Regions from separate parts of the Homo sapiens genome. Here region 2 is linked to region 1. The links are contacts of gene promoters, found by promoter capture Hi-C in human tissues and cell types (Jung and others, 2019). All regions are on one chromosome and are shown on one strand. The core of a region is centred on a gene start or on the middle of the fragment in contact, and the rest is flanking DNA. Distances in the headings are between cores, read along the strand shown.

Evidence for each region. The method cuts DNA at HindIII sites, captures the fragments that hold promoters and counts their contacts. A contact is called where the count stands out against the background at its distance.
Region 2: a fragment that was not itself captured here is called in contact with the fragment with the promoter of SLC16A10 in region 1 in 1 of the 25 tissues and cell types used here (liver).

The regions. Positions count from the first base shown.
Region 1 is chr6:111,085,985-111,088,880 of GRCh38, reverse strand. It overlaps SLC16A10 (solute carrier family 16 member 10), which reads right to left and starts at 1,378. Exons shown (of 6, transcript NM_018593.5): 1 at 786-1,378. The coding sequence starts at 1,128. RefSeq lists silencers at 808-987, 1,018-1,697 and an enhancer at 495-995. The HindIII fragment of the contact is 15,668 bases long and covers 1-2,896 here.
Region 2 is chr6:110,864,532-110,867,427 of GRCh38, reverse strand. It overlaps a transcript of AMD1 not described here. Among named protein-coding and RNA genes, the nearest start is that of AMD1, 8.8 kb to the left of the region's middle. RefSeq lists a silencer at 728-1,022. The HindIII fragment of the contact is 5,977 bases long and covers 1-2,896 here.

The DNA of each region.
Region 1 (2,896 bases), core at 129-2,628:
TTAGATTTGTTTTTTGCCTAACCAGCCAAAAAGTCATAATAATGCTCTACAGGGAGAAAACGCTGAATCTGCACCTTTTGTATCTAATTTACTATATGGTTAAAAAAAAATGTCAAAAAACACAACAGGAAGAGGGAAGAAGCAACCCTTCACCTTCCTCATCCTAGTCCCTAATCCGGCTGCCTCCCGTGTTTTCTACATTTAACCCAGAGGGCAAAAAAAGGCGGGGGGACGGGAACGCACGGAACCGTGACTCTTGCAGGGCCCCCTTTGGAACTCCAGTGACCTTCGTACAAATCTCTTTCATTCCTCCAAACTCCACCCCCCGCCCCGCCAACATACGCACACCCCTCTGCGGCCCAGGGAGGCAGGTGAAGAACTACATAACTGGCATAGTCACGAAAGAGACCACAAAAATGACAGGGCGATGACTGGGGTTGAAGGTTCTGGGGTTCTGTTTGTTTTCAAACAATAAAAGGAAGGGCTCCTGTGGACTGTTAGCGTCTGCTCTGCTGAGGGGAAAGGAGGACGATCTCGGCAAGTAAGTTCTGCGACCTGCTTGCAAACACACAGCTCTGCAGCTGGATTCCATATAAAGACGGGCACCCCGAGGCCCCAGAAGCGGCAGGCTCTGTCTGCAACTCGAAAGACCCCCCTGCTCGCACCCTCTGGCACAGGGACCCACCGACATGCACACTCGGAGGCAGACACAGCCCACACGCGGGATGCGCTCGGGGGCCCCACGCGGGTCGCCCAGGCTGGCCTCGGCGGGCGCCGCGCCTCACCTGTCTTAAAGACCATCTTGTCATCGTCTTTGGAGCCGAAGGTTTCCAGCATGGACACGAAGAGCACCCCGCAAGCGTTCTGGATGCCGAACACCGACCCGTTGCACCACATGGCCGCCAGCATCACCAGCCAGCCCCAGCCGCCCTCGGGGGGTTCGGGGGGCTCATGGGGCTCCGCGGTCGCCGGCCCCGCCAGCTCCACCTCCACCTTCTCGACAGCCGCCTCGGGGCTGTCCGAGGGTCCCGGGCCGGGCGGCGGAGCGGCCCCCGTGGGCGCGGGGCCGAGCGGCTGCGCCTCGCTCGTGCCCCGCGCGGAGTCCGGCTCCTCCTGGGAGAGCACCATGGCCCGAGGCGGGCCCCTCAGGCGCCGGAGAAGCGCGAGGGACGCGAGTTACCAGCGGGCTCCCGGAGGAGCTGCGGGGCTCCTGGCGGGCTAACGAGGCCGAGGCGAGGGCGGCGGAGCCCCTGGCGGGCGGGCGGGCTGGCAGCGCGCAGGCGGCCAGCGCGCAGGCGGCCGCGAGGACAGCTGGCGCGCGCGAACACCTCGGGGATCGACACTGAAGCCTCTAGGTCACAGCCCCGCACCCCCGACTGAGCCCACTGCCAGCCGCCGGTTCTTAAAAGCACCCCCCGCCCCGCCGGCTGGGGGCGTGGCCGGGAGCGGGACGTGCCCCCACAGCCTCCAGATGATTGGGCCTCGGAGAGCGGAGGCGGGGCGCCCCGCGGCGCGCGGCCCCAGGTGCCCGCGGCAGACGCTGTCTGCGCGCGCGTCTGCGACGGGGCCTCCTCCTGCTCAGAGAGGGGCACAGATGTGTGGGTCACCCCGCCTCAAAGCATGAGCAGAAGGGGCGCGTCTCCTAGGTGCGGGCGCGGTGGGCCTTCAGGAGAGCCACACTGGATCGTTAGCCTCAACTCACCGACACAGCGTCACAGTCACACTAACATTGTCTCGATTGTGTTTGTTTTATGTTTTGGCATTCACCTCTCAGTACTAATTATAATATGTAAGATTCGTTATGCCACCTGGCTTCTTAAATAAGTCATCTGAAGGATCAGAGCCCTTATTTTATTACTTCAGTTCCATTCTCTTGCATTCGTATACAATTTCCTTATGAATATTTGGCACACCAAAGATGCTTATTTTCAGTCCTCACTGGACTGCAATTCCGAAGTCTTCAACCAACAAACATTTTTAACAGACAGCTAGAAAGCATTACTTTTCAACTACATCAGAGTCGTTTTCACTTTAAACAAAAACTAAAACCTGTATTCAACTCCTCTGTCTCCCTGAAGCATGGAGTGCCATCCTATGTAAAAGAAAAGAAGAGTAACCTGCTATGCAATATTGAGGATGCTTCTTAATTTCTGTTATTCGTATTCTTCACTTCAATCAAAGTCAAAATATGCTAGTTACTTGATGTGCCCACCACTGTGATAGAGTACACAGATGAGTGCGATTGATCTCGTTTCTGCCTCTTATCAGTTGATAAACTGGTAGGAAAAAAGAGTCCTGGGAGAGACTAGGAGGCTCAGATGATGTGTTATAATACATGTACAAAAGAGAGAGATGAGATAGTCCCTTAAATTCTCTCCAAACACTGTAGAAGAGCCTCTACAGCAAACAGCCTTTGGCCGAAGCCCTGATTCATACATACGACTTCAGTGGGTCAAGACAGGAAAAGAGCATTCCAGGTAGAGAAAATAGCATAAACTAAGGAAAGCAAGCCGTGCTTGGTTGTGGAATGGGGAACATAGCTCAAGTGTAATCTGCCTTAGAAATGAGGGTAAAATAGTAAACAAAGGAATAGGCACATAAGTGCACAAAAATGTATGTATGAAGATGATACCCCAGTATTGTTGGAAATAAGGAAAATTTGGAAGTATAATGTACATTGGTAGAAGACTGATTAGATACTTACTTTAAAACCTCTAAAAGTTCTGAAGGTCATCTGTATTTATTGACTTTGAAAGTTGTCCACAACATATTATTGGGCAAAGAAAGCACATCGATTATATATTTGCATGCACACAAACAAACACATATGTAAGAATTATCCACGAGTCAGTACTGATGTAAGTAAATGATTAAATAAATAATGAGGAGAGAATAG
Region 2 (2,896 bases), core at 103-2,602, 220 kb after region 1:
CTCCCAAAGTGCTGGGATTACAGGTGTGAGCCACCACACCTGGCCTGTATTTACTTTTTATGTTATAATCTCAACTATACTTATTCTGTTATTTAAATGATTAAAAAACTAATTGGGCTAGCACAGTGGCTCATGCTTGTAGTCCCAGCTATTTGGGAAGCTGAGGCAGGAGGATTGCTCGGAACCCAGGAATTTGAGGTTACAGTGAGCTATGATTGAGCCACTGTACTCCAGCCTAGGCAAGAGAGCGAGAGAGTCTCTAAAAAAAAAAAGAAAAAAAGAAAAGAAAAAGTAATTGTTTAGAAAGTGTTGTTGGGCCAGGCCCGGTGGCTCACGCCTGTAATCCCAGCACTTTGGGAGGCCGAGGCGGGTGGATCACGAGGTCAGGAGATCGAGACCATCCTGGCTAACACGGTGAAACCCCGTCTCTACTAAAAATACAAAAAATTAGCTGGGCACGATGTTGGGCGCATGTAATCCCAGCTACTCGGGAGGCTGAGGCAGGAGACTAGCTTGAACCGGGGAGGCGGAGGTTGCAGTGAGCCAAGATTGCGCCATTGCACTCCAGCCTGGGCAACAAGAGTGAAACTCTGTCTCAAAAAAAAAAAAAGAAAGTGTTGTTGGAGCTCAGAAACCGATACCACCATATATGGCTTGGTGAACTGAGGAAGTCTCAAAGTCTCTCTGACTTACACCCCTCCCTTCCCCCACCCTCTGAAAAACAGGAGTTCCTTTATCTTCCTAAGATCCAGACCATCAAAAAAAATTAATTTTTTTCTCCTCCCTGGAAGGCCAGGAATGTAACTACACCTGAACATAGCTTTTCACAGGATCATGTACAGTTTAATCCCTGTTCCCTAATCCATTCATTCTCCCTAGTAATAGAATTATTTTCCCTACTTCCACAACCTGTTTTGCTAGCGTGGTCTGTAAGCTTCTGAATCACAATGGGGGTGGGCGATGACTTGTGATTTTCCTCTTGTGCTCGTTGTGTACTTGTTAAATAAATTTGTATGCCTGCTCTTCCATTAAACTGCCTCATGACAGTGATTTTCAGTGAACCTTCAGAGGGCCAAGGGGAAAGCCCTCTTTTGATCCCTACAGTGTATAAAATATGAATTAAGGTGCATGTTAAAAAACCTTTACATTTCCATTTTATATTACATTTCCATTATTTTATGGAAATTGTAAAATAATCAGGAAATTATTTTCAGATATTTCCAAAAGCTGTATTTCCTGTAACCTTGATTATCTATTAAAACTTTAAAACAATCAATAAATGAACTAAAATTAATAAAACTTAAAATTAAAATTATGTAGATAAGGCTGAAGTTTTTTAATTTAATTTTTTGAAAATTTAATGAAGGCCAGGCATGGTGGGTCACACCTGTAATCCCAGCACTTTGGGAGGCCGAGGCGGGCAGATCACCTGAGGTCAGGAGTTCGAGACCAGCCTGGCCAACATGGTGAAACCTCATCTCTACTGAAAATTCAAAAATTAGCTGGGCATGGTGGCAGGAACCTGTAATCCCAGCTATTCAGGAGGCTGAGGCAGAGGAATTGTTTGAACCCAGGAGGTAGAGGTTGCAGTGAGCCGAGATTGCACCACTGCACTCTAGCCTGGGCAACAGAGTGAGACTCTATCTCAAACAAAAAAAAAGAAAGAAAGAAAAAAAGAAAATTTAATGAAAGCTTATTAAACATTTTAATAGAATTAAACTATCTGCAATTTGGGCCAGGCTCAGTGGCTCACGCCTGTGATCCCAGCACTTTGGGAGGCTGAGGTGGATAGATCACCTGAGGTCAGGAGTTCAAGACCAGACTGGCCAACATGGTGAAACCCTGTGTCTGCTAAAAAATCCAAAAATTAGCCAGGCATGGTGGCACACGCCTATAATCCGAGCTACTCGGGAGGCTGAGGCAGGAGAATTGCTTGAACCTGGGAGGTGGAGGTTGCAGTGAGCCAAGATCACGCCACTGTGCTTCAGACTGGGTGACAGAGTGAGACTCAAGAAAATAAACAAACAAAAAAAACTATCTGCAATTTTAACATTCCATGTCCCTTTTGCTACAAATGTGAAGAATCAGTATCATACTTTGTTACATCTATACAAACATTTAAGAATAATATAAAATTGCTCAGTTTTGCAAAATGTTCCTCAGCTACCCATCTGAAATTTCATCCTAATTTGTGGGCATCTCTGGTGTCCTAAGAAAAGCAAGAAAATGCTTGACACTAGGAAAAGATACTCTATTAAGCCAAAAGCTATTGCATTCACACTGAGAGGAAGAACTTATTTGACAAGCTAATTATTTTGTCTTTTATCTGTTTCTGCTGTTTGGAATCCTCCCCACATTCCAAAGCAAGGTCTTTCTCCTACTTCAACAGCTGCAGAAACCATAAAGCTTTATGGCATTTGTATTCGGTTGCCTTTTGTTTTGTAGACATAGAGCAAGTGATGTGAAGTGTTTCCCTGGGGTCTAATAGGTGTTATTTCCAGGAGTGGATGTTTAAGTTTGTAAGTCATACAATGCCAGCCTGTATGCTGGATTCCAAGTAACAAAGGTATCTGTGTGTTATTTTATAAACGCATTTTGGCATTTATTTGTGACAAGCCAGGTTAAGGGCAGGGGCCCCTCTTGCTGTGTCTAGGGGTGATGCTAGTCAGAGTTTACAAAATGAAGTCACAGAAACTCCCAACACTTCCCTAGTCTTTCTAGGCCACTGGTAGACAAAGTTAGAAAGTTAAGGGGTCCCATTAATCACTATTGTTGGGGTCCGACCCCATGATTGGGGTTCCACCAATCACTATCTCAAAACATCTGTCAGATTGAAATTTAAAAGCCCATGTTTTCTGAGGACAAATATTTATACAAATTCAATTACTGAGTTTAC